2 separate regions of the Homo sapiens genome follow, and region 2 is linked to region 1. Evidence: promoter capture Hi-C in human tissues and cell types (Jung and others, 2019). All regions are on one chromosome and are shown on one strand. The core of a region is centred on a gene start or on the middle of the fragment in contact, and the rest is flanking DNA. Distances in the headings are between cores, read along the strand shown.

Region 1 (7,116 bases), core at 3,262-5,761:
ATAAGATAGGCTCCAATAAATAAAACAGAACGTAAAATGGCTCATGCCACTTGAAAGTCCAAGAGGTAGTTCTAGCTTCAGGCATGGTTCTATCTCTAGATCTGTCTCTGGTTCTTCTTTCTTCACTTTATTCTCAGCCAGTCTCTCATTTTGGAGGCAAGATGGTCAGGGCTAGCTGAAAGCTGTTAGGAGTAGGGCCCTCATGTTTTCATCTGTTTACTGTAGGGAAGACTTTGATTGGCTCTTCTAGGTCACATGCTCATCCCTGTGCCAATGCCAGGTGAGGCACGCAGAATGCCCAGCCTTGATCAGCTGTCCAGCCTGTGGTGAGAGTGACTGGGGCTGCACTCAGCACTCACGCCACGAGAATCACTCATTGTTGGGACTGGTGTAGCAATTCCCAAACAACAGAGGTGGATCAGTTGGCTGCGGTTGCTTTTACTTCTGTTGGTCCATAGCGTTATGGAAATGCCACAGAAAATTTTGGAATTTTCTCAAGTCATCTGAGCCTTACACATGTATCTGTACCCAATTTAGTTGCGATTCTTTGGGCTTCAAGTCACAGTATGGTGCCTTAGGCTGGACTCCTTTAGTGGTAAGTGACAGAATATCTTAGTTTGGGCTGGTTTAAGCGAAAATGGGAATTTTTTAGCTTGTGCAATTAAATAGTCTAGGAGTGGCACTGGTGAGGTAGAGCGTGCTAATGGACCTGCCCATTATGGATTCATTTTGTTCTTTCAGTAACAGACCATGCCCAGATGAAAACTTCATTCTCCATTTTCCTGTGGAGCCAGCTGTGGCCATGTGACAAAACACTGGTCCACGCGATGCAAGAAAAAGAGATGTTTGACACATCTGGATCATATTTTTATTAGAAGGTTATTTTCCCTCCATGTTTTCTTCCCACTTCCTGGGAAATGAGAGGGTGTTGCTTTGTTTTCATGCTACTAATAAAGACATACCTGAGACTGGATAATTTATAAAGGAAAGAGGTTTAATAGACTCACAGTTCCACATGTCTGGGGAGGCCTCACAGTCATGGCAGAAGACAAAGGAGAAACTAAGTTATGTCTTACATGGCAGCAGGCAAGAGAGCTTGTGTAGGGGAACTCCTGCCTTTACAAAACCATCAGATCTCATGAAACTTACTTGCTACCACAAGAATAGAATGGGGGAAACCACTGCCACGATTCAATTATCTCCACCTTGCCCCACCCTTGACACGTGGGGATTATTATAATTCAAGGTGAGATTTGGGTAGGGACACAGAAAAACTGTATCAGACAATGACTAGACTCAAGGATGAAAAACCGTGTCCTGAGGTGCCAGAGTTGAACCACAAGCTTGGATCCCTGGGCATCCTTATAGGACTAAGTGTCCTACTTGCCCAGGATAAACTGTTACATGAAAAATAAATAAACTTTTATGCATCTTAAATCATTATATTTTGGGGTCTAATTGTTACAAAATCTTCAAATCTACTTAAATAACTTCCTGGGGTGCTGGAAGAGGGGTTCAAATCAGATCGTCGGGATCTGGTTTGCTTCTCTTTATGTCTTGGTTCTGCTCCTTTAGCGTGGCCTTCACTCTTCGATAAGCCCTCCCCTGGGGTTTCACCATTTGTGCCAGCAGCTCCTGGGCCTCTTCCATCCAGATTCCATTTCAGCTGGAGTGTGAGTCTTCCTCCCAGTATTCAGTAAAAGTAACCCAATTCATTATTAATTGGCCAGCTTAGGTCATGTGCCCATATCTGAACCAATCACCAACCACTAGTTGTCCAAAGAAAGGCCATGGACAGGGCTGCACACGTGAGCTGGAAACAGGGGTGAGTACACTCAGTGAAAATGGTGACTACTATGGGAAGAACAAACTCTGGATGCTGAGGAAACAAACAGAAATGCATACTACAAATAAGAAGCTCTAAATATTCAAAAATTGAGTTCAAAACACGGAACGAAATAGTATTTTTTCTTGTCAGACATTTCCAGTAAAACTAAATCATGTGTGATAGTATATTTGTTCGGCAGCATATGGTTAGGCAAGTTGTGCACTGTAGAACTCTATAAGCACCCCTTACATTGCCTACCTCTGTGAATGGTTCTTTTCCATTTCTTTTTCTTTTTTTAATGTTTTTTTTTTTTTTTTTTTTTTTTGAGACAGAGTTTCGATCTTGTTGCCCAGGCTGAAGTGCAATGGTGCAATCTTGGCTCACCTCCACCTCCCAGGTTCAAGTGATTCTCCTGCTTCAGCCTTCCAGGTAGCTGGGATTACAGGCACGCACCACCACACATAGCTAATTTTGTATTTTTGGTAGAAACGGGGTTTCTCCATGTTGGTCAGGCTGGTCTCGAACTCCCAACCTCAGGTGATCCACCCACCTCGGCCTCCCAAAAAATTACAGGGATTACAGGCGTAAGCCACTGTGCCCAGTCTCTTTGCTCTTGCTGCCAGGGCTTGTATTGCACAATTTGGACAAGTGTAAATGTCCTATGAATAGTATATCACAGTCTGTACGTTTTGCATGTATGTCAATTGGATTTCACCAAACAAAACCATATATTGGATTCAGTCTTGCAATTTAAAAAAGAAATCATTTGTTCCTTCACGTCTAGTTTGATATTTTCTGGTTTGATTCTAGTTTCCTCAGCTCCAGTTAAATTATCTATGGATGTTGATTATAGTCAGCATTAACTATCAAGGGATGGATTTCTCGCCTTCAGTTTTTGTCAGTAATTATTTCCGTTATTGTGGGCCCTTCATTTCAAGCTCCTTATGCCTTAATTTCTTCATTTTTTGTTTCTATAATACTGTGGACTTGGTCTATAAATGATGTGTTAGATAAATGCCTTCCATGAACACCTCTATTTTACAGCAACCATGGGCAGCATTTTTTTTTTTAAGTTCCAATCCTTCAAAAGGAGCTCTCCAAATGATTTTACCATTTCATCTCTTTTGGTGAGAGATTTAAAATTAAAACATCATTTTCCATAGAATGGCAACATGAAGACAGATGGTTTACTATGTAGCAAAAATAGTTCTCCCTGCCAGAATATCTCCTTTTTGATTGTCCCCATTTAGTCTCGGTTCTCCTATGACACATTCTTGGAGGTTTCTGTTCTTTAACTGAAACTCATCAAGCCAAGGTGACTAAAAGCTAATGTTCCCAGTGAGAATGGGAAGATTCATATCGTCTTAGAGTTGAAAGACCTGTGGATGTCATCAGGTCAAACAATCCACTACTAACTGAATCCTCTTCTCAATGGCTCTGAGCAGTGATCTCTAGCTTTAGCTTTGTCGCTTCCCAGTGAGTAAGAATTTTTGTCTAATTTCTGATGATTATCTTTGCCTTTGTGAATAGTGCAAATGATTAGAAAGATCTTCCTTGGAAATCAACTAGTAACCTCTCTTTCTGTGAGATCCTCTCTTCAGAAGAGGAATAGGAGAATGTTTAGGAGCAGAGCTGGGCACTACACACACCTCCCTTCAATCCTAGCTCTGATAGTGGCCAGCTGTGAGACCTTAGCAAGTCTGTAAAATGTGGATGCTGGTGCCTAATTCATTATTCCCTTAACAAGATTAGCACAATGCCCAGCACACTGGTGCTCAATGTGTGTTAGCAATTATCAATCAAGTATGCTTTAGGGAGGTAATGCAGTCAGGGGCAGGTGAGTGTGAAATTCAGTCCCCTTCTTCATCTTATTGTATAGGCAGTATCTCATAATGGCAATGAGAGCTCTATTGCCAGGCTAAGGAGGCTTAATTAAATATGGGCCTGGTGTATACATTAACAGGGCACCTACCTCAAAAAGTGCAGGGGAGTTTGAATGAGTCAATCCATGCAAAAGGCTTGGAGAGTGCCTGGCACCTAGGTGGCCATCTTGATAACCACAAGGATTTACTGAGCACTTGCTCTGGGGTCAGGCTTTGGGGACAGACAGTGATGAGGCCAAGTCTCAGCCCCCTGGGAAACACATTCCGGCGGGAAAGAGGCTGAAACAGGGAAACTGTGGCAAATGATACCAGCGAGGGCTAGGTCCCTGACACAAGGAAACCCAAGGAAGCATTTGGCTTAAGCGGTGACAATATCCCTCTCCTCAGATGCCAAGGTCAAGGCGAGCCGCGGCAACACCATCTCCCCAGACACACACGCAAAATCGGCCCTTCTCGGGGAAAGGGCAGGGGCTGAAGGGGGAGGCGGGGTGGGCGGCGGCTGGAAAAAAGTGAAATTTCCTCTCCTCCTAAAATAAGTCATTGGAGCGAGGAGAGCGAGCGCTATCTCAGTAGGCTGTGGGCGAGGTGCGGGGGTGGCGGGGGCACGCTCCGGGTCCGCCAGGAGGGGAGGGATCGGAAGGGGAAGCGGGGAGGGAAAGGTGGGTGGGAGGCGCGGGGAGCGTTCCAGGGCGGCTGCTCACGGGTGGCCGCAGCCCAGTGCTGGGACTCGCGCGGCTCCTCCTCTTAGCCCCCCACCCCTTCCTCCTCTTTCCTCCTCCTCCTTCCTCCTCCTCCTCCTCCTTCTTCTCCTCCTTCTCGGCCGGGAGGAGGCAGGGCTGGATCCCTCAGCCGCCGCCGCTCCTCCTCCTGGCAGGCCGGCCGCGGAGTCAGCTGACGCCGGCGCTCCAGCCTCGCCTCCCCGCGCCGCGCTCTGCGCTCCCCGAAAGTGGCTGCAAGCCGGCCGCCCACTGTCAGGGTTGGGGGGACAGAGAAAGTGATGTGCGCCTTCTAAAGCCTCGCCCAGCGCCGCCGAAGCAGCTTCACCTCTCCAACTTTCTCCCACCGACTGCTTGTCTTGACCCTGCCCTCCACCCTCCCCAGAGCCACTTCGGGTGCGCGCTCTTGGGTAAAGGGGGGGTCACCGGCTGTCTGGGATGGCTTCCAATTTTAATGACATAGTGAAGCAAGGGTACGTGAGGATCCGGAGCAGACGCCTCGGGGTGAGTATCGATCCTCTCCGTGTTGCTGTTCGCCGGTTCGATTGTCTCTCTCTTGAGCCAGCATCCCTGGAGGGTGGACGGAGAGTCCCCGGCCGCGCGCCGGAGAATTGCGCGGTGGCTTTCTCAGCCGAAACCCGCGTCTCCGGGGCTGTCACTGTAAGGCCAGCGTCTAGGTATGTAATGGATCTATCTTTATCTCTTGGATGACTTGGCTTTCTGATGGTGGCCGCGTGTTGGGCTTCAGTAGCCCCTGGAGCCCATCTACTCGAAATAAATATTTCTCGGTAGCCATGGAAGTTGGAGCTGAGAAGCCCGGGCGGGGGTGCCTGCCGGATGCCCCCGGTTCCCCTCTTTTCCCACTCGCCGCCAACTTAACTTTTCCGGGGGATGGATCGGCTGGTTGAGAAAGAGGACACGCATACTCGGTGTGAACGAGGTCACGAACCCTCTGACCCCAGGGAGAGATTTCTGCCAAGCGTAAGGTGTCTTTGGATCCCCCCACCTCTGTCCCAGGTGTCGTGTCAAAGGCGGTGCGGGCTGGCCTCTGGTCGGGGCCAACTTGGGTAGATACTTGAATCTGGATTTTCCGTGGTTCGAAGCCGGGGTGGTGGATTTCTGTTGCTGGAATACACCCTGGAGGTCCACGGAAGGGTTATTTACGTGGAACCTGATACCTGGCATAGCGCAAGTGCTCCCTACATATGTCCTGAAAGGAAGAATGAATGAATCTTAGGGCACTTGGGACAGATGTTGACACAGGCTAGCTCCTTCCTTAAAACTCCCTCTCTTTCGCCCCTTTCTCTCTTGGCTCTTCGCTGGAGGAGGCTTCAAAAGAGAACCTACCCTTCCTCTCCTTGGGACTGAATGATGGTGGAAGAATTCTTGAGGGAGAGGGAAGATACTGGAACGATTTTTTTATTTCCTAAAAATTTCAAACTAGGTCCCTCATTTCTCTTTGCCTCCTATCAAGTGTTGTCGCTGTTTTAGTTGATCCTGTGCGTTTGGACATAAGGGGTGAAAAGTGGGGGTGGAGAGGTGGCGGGGGCGGGGGGAGAAAATATCCTTTGGTGTAATGCCTGAAATAAGTATAATGTCAGTAATCGTGTGGAATGCCGCCATTGATAATGAGTGGTAAATTGAATAGCTTTCTTTAGAAATATGTGTCATTTGGCATCTTTCTCTTACTTGGTCTTTGGACTGTTTTAATGTGCCAGATACTTTTACTGAAAACTGAAAAGAAATTTCACAGTAGTAAACTCAGCTAGGGAGGGAAGCCCTGTGGGGAGGAACATCCGCAATTATTATAAAACTCTTGCCTAATTCGTTTTGGTCTTTTTCTTTTCTTTTTCTCCCCTGCTGGTGACCATGTTTTAGCGATTATGTCCTGTGTTATTGTGAATATATACATATGTAATTAGGGAGAAATGTAACAGAATTCACCATTTCCATCAGCTCTGCCAAAGTTTCCTTGGTTTTCTTTTCTGCTATGCAAATATTCTCATCTTCAAGAGCACCCATTGTTGGGGGTACTTTACTGAGTGACTCCCATGTAAGGGGCAAACAATAATGGGAACTTTCTATTTTTGGTATGCTTATAGGCTGGCCAAGTGTTACAATTTTAAGGGGAGTTAAGTTAAAAAAAAAAAAAACCCAGCATTCTAATTTAGCTTTACTCCATCATGTCAATGGAAGGAATTGGTATGAGACATCCATTCTGTGTTAGGGAGCATTCCAATGGGAAGAGGACATGCATTATTAATGCACAAAATATGAATTATTCATAAGGATCAGAGTTTATGCCAAATTGTGACACATGGTAATTTATTTGAAAAACTGGTTACCATCACTTTCTTGTTTGTGGTAACTGAGATTATTTTTTCTAGATTATTACAATTGACACAACATAGCCCTATGTGTGTGCCAACATTTATGGACAGATATTTGAAGCAGAAGGAACAGAAATATTTAGTTTGTATTTGTTTTATGTTTTACAGCATTTTGGATGCTAATGAGCAGTATACTTTCTCAAGATTTATTCTTTTTGTCTGTGTTCACGTTCAGACTTCAGAATATCTATTGAATTATGGTTATTGCTCATGGAGAGAAAAGGTCAAAAATATGATCAAGTAAATCTGGTCTTATTTGTTAGCATTGGTTTTCTCACCAGTTAATTTTTAAAATATTC
Region 2 (7,116 bases), core at 2,369-4,868, 260 kb before region 1:
AACAAAGGGGAGGACTGTGTTATATTCCGACCACTGAGCTCTGTATTGCTTGACACTGCCTTTCAACCTCTGAGAAATAAAAGTTCACATACCTTAAGTCGATGGTCATGAGAGACCAGGTCAGGGATGGAGTGTGAATGTTGTGAGCTCATTACTGTTACTGCAAAAGAGCCAAAAGTAGTGTTTCAGTATGAACTATTTTTATACACACACAAATATCTTTTCTTCTTTAAACTAGAATCAGGTGCTCTGGTTTTCATTTTATAAATGGAAGGGAAACCCTAAGGAGAGTCTGGTTTTATGTTTTAGCTTTATTTTTTAAAAATATATGGTACCTCCTTGAGAATCTGATGAAAGCAGACATCCTGCTGCCTCTTCCAGATGTGCCTAAGCCTGTGTACACACTCACACACACACGTGCACACTCACAGAGACGCACGTTCACATTCAGTTACCGAGAACTCATGGACCTGTCTGACCTCTGAAGCCAGTCTGCCTGGGTTGAAATCAAGTTCCACCACCTACTGGCTCTGTGGCTTTGGCCATATTATATAAAGTGTACCTCAGTTTCTCAATCTGTAAAATAGTGCTGGTGATCCTCCCTAATAAGATGGATTGCAGGATTAGCAGAGATAATAAAGTACTTAGGAAGTTTTGGCACATAGTAAATTCAATCAGTGTTAGCTATTTTTTTATTATTTCATTGGTACTTTATGTTATCCAAGTACTCTTTATTTGCAAATTTGTAAATTTAATCACATTAAATATTAATTTTTAAATACTAAACATTCAATTTTCATCATTTTTTAGTAAAGTAGACCTTATTAAGACATTTAAACAGGTCCTACATTATAAACATAATTTTTGCTGTGAATGGAATAGAGCCACTGAAATGTACAGTGACCCTTTAGCCAGTAAGCTCATGCAAGTTTTAGCTCTAAGAAAAAAAAAACACTACTCTGAGACATTTACCAATATATTTGACCATGTAACTTTTTGTTTCCTGGGTCATCTTAATGAAAGAATGCTCCAACTTGAGAAATTCTGCTCTGTGCCAAAAGTTGGCTTTTTTTCTTTCCTTTTAAAAGGACTTATTAATTGTTCTTTATGTTTGCAATATGTTTATAGCTTAGGAATTATTTTATGGAGTATCAGAAAAGGTTATAGATTTACAAACAAACCTTAAGCTTGTGGAGCAAAAAATAAGGCATTTGTTATGTTCTGTACTTCTTGTGATTCTTGACTATATGAGTGCAAATGGCTTATTGAGTTATTGTTGAGAAATATAAAAAGCTAACTGATAACTTCTCCGTTAAAATTTTACAAAAACTTAAACACTTCTTTCAGGCTGCAGAAGATGTCAATGTTACTTTCGAAGATCAACAAAAGATAAACAAATTTGCACGGAATACAAGTAGAATCACAGAGCTGAAGGAAGAAATAGAAGTAAAAAAGGTATTGAAAATAATTATTAGAAGAATAAAATTTTTTTATACTATAGCTACTAAAACTGAACTCAGTTAACAAGTGAATATATATTTCTCTGGGCTGTTTGTTGCAGATGAATGACGCGATCCACTCTAGTTAAGCAGAAAGTCATTTTTTTTTTAAGGGATATGCGATAACTTACAGAGTTGTTGAGGAGCTTGAGTCTAGACCGAGGTTCCAGGAACAAGTCTCGGAGAACTTGGCTGGCGGTGGAACAGCTGTTGCCTCCACTGATCCCAGAGTCAGCTGTCTTCCCAATGAGGAAGCCACCCTTGCAGACTTAGGAACACCAAGCTGCTGCTGCCAGTGCCACCTACCCCAGTAAATCTGGGGCCTGTGTCCAGCCGTCCCCCTTGAGTTGAAATCCAGCTCAAATGCATTTGATTGGTGGAATTGAAGTTATTATCACTTATGCATGCTGGCAGAACTTTCATTACCCGCATGATTTACTTACACCCTATCAGCAAGCAAGGCTGAGAAATGTAGGCTGGTTTTTTTGGTTTTGTTTTTGTAGGAAGGCAGAATTCACAAAGTCAAAAATTGTTAAAATAGAAGAAATTTTGAGTGACCATGTGCCTGCTGTCCACCACAGGGCGCTTATTGTCCAGAGGACAAAGCTTTAGGTAGCTCTAAGTGCTTGCTTGTGAAATGTCTTCTAAAAAGTTACAAATTAAGGTCTTATTCTAATGTGGTAATAATACCTTTGTGAGAGGGTCCCTCAGAGAGTTGCTGTCCCCAAATTACAATTGGCCTTTAGCTTCTATCAGAGAACTTTGAGTACATTTTCTTTGCCATTTTGCATTTATAGAAACAACTCCAAAACCTAGAAGATGCTTGTGATGACATCATGCTTGCAGATGATGATTGCTTAATGATACCTTATCAAATTGGTGATGTCTTCATTAGCCATTCTCAAGAAGAAACGCAAGAAATGTTAGAAGAAGCAAAGGTATGTTAAAGGTTAATTCTGAAATTAGAATTTATATCACTATAAAGAACATGTAATTATAGATGTAGGGAAATAGTAGATGCTAGCTATAGCTAATATTTACTGCCTTGTTATGTCCCAGGCATGCTCCGAATGCTTTGCCAGCAGGATTTTGTTGAATCATAACGATGACCTGTTATCCCAATTTAGGGACAAAGAATAGAGGCTTAGAGAGGTTATGGGATTTATTCAAAGTGACACATAGACAGTGGTCTTCTGACTCCAGAACCTTGCTCAAAACTAAAAGTATTTAGAAGGTATAGCATATATTGAAGCAGAAAAGAAAAATCCCCTGTAATTCTGCTATGCAGAGGTAACCATTCATAGTGAACATTTTCCTGTATTTCTTTTATGTTCTCTCTGCCTCTCTCCGTGTAGTTTGCTTCCCAGTTGGGACAATTAATGTTCCAGGAGGAGCATTTTTGCTGGTTTCATTGAATGTTTGTTTGTCCAGCAGATACTCATTGGAAGCCTGCTCTGAGCCTGGCACACAGGCCTTTAAAAACATCGTTTTTGAAGACTGTTTAATATCATGTTGATGGTTATCAATTGGGGTCACGGGTCTTATTGTTAGCATTAATTTGTTTCCAATATTTTGCTGTACTAATGTTACTGTGAGCATTCTTCTACATAAATCTTTGTTCACATTTAGAAAATTGTTTTGAGGAAATAATTAGAGAAATATAATTACTGGGTCAGTCAGCATATGAGTTCTCTGATAATATCTGAGACATTTGATACATGGTATGAAATTTTCAGTTCACATGCCTTCTTACTATTTGGGAGGGACAGCCACGTTGTTTGTCTATGAGAAGCAGATGGCAATTAAACCTTTCCTAATGCTTTTGCTAATTAACCTGATTGCTTAAAATGATAGTCTCTCTTCAAATGTCATAAAAAGCAAAACTTCGTATGAATGAAACCCACATTTAGTAAGTCTTCAGAAGAACTATCACTCCTGGGTCTTTCCATGCATAAATCTTATATGTCTCCCTTATGTTTAAATCTTTTCTTCTTGGTCAAATTTTGTGATTTTTGTTCTTTTTATTTGTTTAACCATTTAAAAAACATTTTTATTGGAAGTATTCCCAGATAGCTTATGGTTTTTGTGGCTATTGTGAATCCCCTGCCCCATACACAGATAGCTACTGAACTTTTATTTTATTTTATTTATTTATTTATTTATTTATTTTTTGAGATGGAGTCTTGCCCTGTCGCCCAGGCTGGAGTGCAATGGCGCAATCTCGGCTCACTGCAACGTCTGCCTCCTGGGTTCAAACAATTCTCCTGCCTCAGCCTCCCGAGTAGCTGGGATTACAGGCGCCCACCACCACGCCCAGCTAATTTTTGTACTTTTGGTAGAGACAGGGTTTCACCATGTTGGGCAGACTGGTCTCGAACTCCTGACCTCGTGCTCGTGATCCACCCGCCTCAGCCTCCCAAAGTGCTGGGATTACAGGCGTGAGCCACCACACCCGGCTGAACCTTTCTTTTTTTACTCATTCTAGAATTCTAGAATGAATGGAGTGCTTACTCTGTATCAGGTTCTGCCATGTACTAGGGATAATTGGGGACAACAAAACCTGCCTGGCCCCTGCCTGCATGGAGCATATAGTCTAGATGGAAAGAAAAAAAAGTAAACAAAACTGATAATGAGTAGAAAGTGATATGAGGATAGAGGTGGCTTTAAGAACACAGGAAGAGGAATCTACACTAGTCTGGACATCAAGGGTCAGGGAAGGGCTCCCAGGGAAAGTGATGGGATAACAGCTGAGGAATAAGTGGCTATTAGCCAGAAAGGGGCGGCGGGGGGCGGGGGGTTCTAGTCGTGAGAAGCAACATGTGTGAACGGCCATAGGATGACGGTGGTGCAAACATAGACCTGCAAGAAGATGTATTTGCTGGAGATTGGGAGCACCTGAAATTGTGGCCACATCTTGGAGAACTCCAGTCAGTTGAGTTGAAGAAATTGTACTTTGTCTTAGCAGGGGTCAGCAAACTTTCTGTGAAGGGCCAGAAGTAAATACGTTAGGTTTTGTGGGCTGCACAGCCTCTGCCATAATTACTATGAAAGCAAGATGAGTGAATCTGCGTGGCTGTCTTCCAATAAAACTTGACAAAAACAAGCTTCAGGCTAGATTGGGCCTGTGGGCTATAGTTTGCCCACTCCCGTCCCAGAGCAAAGAGGAGCCTTCAGAGATTTTTGGAAAAGAGAGAGATGATTGGACTTGCGATATTAAAATGACTTTCTAGTGTCTTATTTTACTTATTAACCAGGTTTTCTCGGTATAGAAATTTAGAATTTATCCCTTTCTAGTAGCCATATGTCTTATTTTTGTTTCTTGTTTTGTAACAGTGATTCTCAAACTTAGCATGCGTGAGAATCACAGTCACCACAGGGCTTGTTAAAAATCCAGGTTGCTGGGCCCGACCCAAAGACGATCTTTCAGGTGGGCTGAGGTAGGGCCCCAGAATGTGTATTTCTAACAAGTTCCCAGGTGATTTTGTCCCTGACACTGGTCTCGGGGCCACCGTTTGAGAACCATTGGCTAGATTTCTAAAACGGCAACACTGTCAGTATTAGATATTCTTTGGTTTCTAATGTTAGTGGGTATTTGGTTTGTGTGATTTCATATTTTTTTGTCATGTTTAGGAAAAAAAATTGTTTTGATCCTAGCCAGGAAGGAACTTAATGGCTTTTTTTTTTTTTTTTAAAACAAAGAGTATATGTTAAAATTTATTTAATCTATTAATGAGGGAAGCATTAACATTACAAAACTGGTTTTAGAATTGAAGAGGCTAAGTATCTATAGATAGGTAGGTAGAAAGAATTGTCCTTTGGAATTGTATTTTCTTTTTTTTAATTATAAATTGACAATTTATAATTGTATAAATTTATGGTGTAAAACGGGATGTTATAATTTATTAATACAATATGGAATAATTAAATCAAGATAGTTAACATGTCTATCACCTCAAATACTTAGAAAATATCTGAGTTTTCACTGGGCAAAGCTGCTCTTTCTTACAAATGAGGCACTTTTTACCACTCTTTTCCAAAGTTTAGCTCCAGAGGCCTCAAAGTTAGTGAAAATTTCTGCCAGATTTGGATCATAAGTTGTTCTTCTTAATTATTGGTGGTTGGTGGTGTGAGTTTCTATCATTTCCTGTAGTCTCATAGTTATTTTTGTTGTTGGAAAAAGCTGGGTTAGAAGCCAGCAGGCCCAGGATAAACTATTTATAGAAGTCTTTGTATTTGGTTCTTTGTTAGGAAATAATTTAGACAGTAATTTTTTACTATTTTTTAGATCAGCAGAAACTGAGAAAACAAACTTGATTTATTCTGTGATAAGCAGATATGGACCATGAATTAAAAATGCCCACATTCAGACATTTAGATCTAATTATCAGTGTTACTTAGCTGCCTGTCCAAGTTTAGAAGGTTCTTGACCTAAAATTCTTCCCAAATATTATTTCAGACACAGATGCTCAGAAATCATCCTATTGAATAGAATTAATTTAAAATATTTTTTTTCCAGAAAAATTTGCAAGAAGAAATTGACGCCTTAGAATCCAGAGTGGAATCAATTCAGCGAGTGTTAGCAGATTTGAAAGTTCAGTTGTATGCAAAATTCGGGAGCAACATAAACCTTGAAGCTGATGAAAGTTAAACATTTTATAATACTTTTTTTATTTGTTTAATAAACTTGAATATTGTTTAAAATGATAATTTTCCTTCTTCAAATGACATGGAAAGCAAAACTTTCTTTTTTAAAAATTTTCATTTATTTAATGGAAACTTGCCCATTTTCACATGTCTGCTTATTTATTTTATATTTTTAAAAGAAGACAGTATTCACCTATGTATTTTGCATAACGATTATATCAAGTCTAGGGGCTTCATGTCATGTTATTAAAATCAGTTAAGCAATCTTTTATGTTTCTATATTATTTAGAATATTTGTTGTTGCAATTTTCACATAAGAAAATTTAACAGTTGTGTCATGTTGTTTCTGTCTGATTTTAATTGCTGTCTAATGACGGGGAAAGCACGATGAAAAGATGTACAATCCTGCATCCTTGCTTATTTCACAACTAAAGCTTTGTCATAGACTTCAAAATATATATGTATATATTTTATTTAAATATATGTTACATATTATATTTAAACATACATATTTAACATTTTTTACATATCTATCAATATCAGAGATTTGGGTAAAAGAATGGGTAATGTTTAAACATGTGGAGGCATGTGGAGCTTTATACAAACAGGGCAGAACCACAGAAGAACGTTTTAGAAACCAAGAGATGTGCAGAAAGAAATGTTTAGTGTTTTTTCGTTTTAAATTTTAGATTTTATTTTAGTGCTTTGTAATTAATTGGGGTTTATATTGATAAAGATGTGGAAGTTAAACAGCTATGTATGTAAAAGTAAGGCTTATTTCTTAAATAAAGGATGCATTTCTTCCCACTCCCCCACAAAAGACAAACATTTTGGGATTTGGGAGACCTAAATGTATTAACTTTCCAGCAGATGGCACTGATGTGCCAAATGTGAATGGAAGGATCCTAACACAACAATGAGATTGTTAGGATTAAATATACATAATTTTAGAGGAAATATTTTTAATTTTTAA

Evidence for each region. Contacts are between HindIII fragments. The study calls those that stand out against the background at their distance.
Region 2: a contact is called between a fragment that was not itself captured here and the fragment with the promoter of DOK5 in region 1, in 1 of the 25 tissues and cell types used here (H1 embryonic stem cells).

The regions. Positions count from the first base shown.
Region 1 is chr20:54,471,082-54,478,197 of GRCh38, forward strand. It overlaps DOK5 (docking protein 5), which reads left to right and starts at 4,512. Exons shown (of 8, transcript NM_018431.5): 1 at 4,512-4,931. The coding sequence starts at 4,866. The HindIII fragment of the contact is 11,986 bases long and covers 269-7,116 here.
Region 2 is chr20:54,213,004-54,220,119 of GRCh38, forward strand. PFDN4 (prefoldin subunit 4) reads left to right here. Exons shown (of 4, transcript NM_002623.4): 2 at 1,348-1,455; 3 at 2,297-2,437; 4 at 6,016-6,958. The coding sequence ends at 6,147. Among named protein-coding and RNA genes, the nearest start is that of PFDN4, 8.5 kb to the left of the region's middle. The HindIII fragment of the contact is 3,944 bases long and covers 1,647-5,590 here.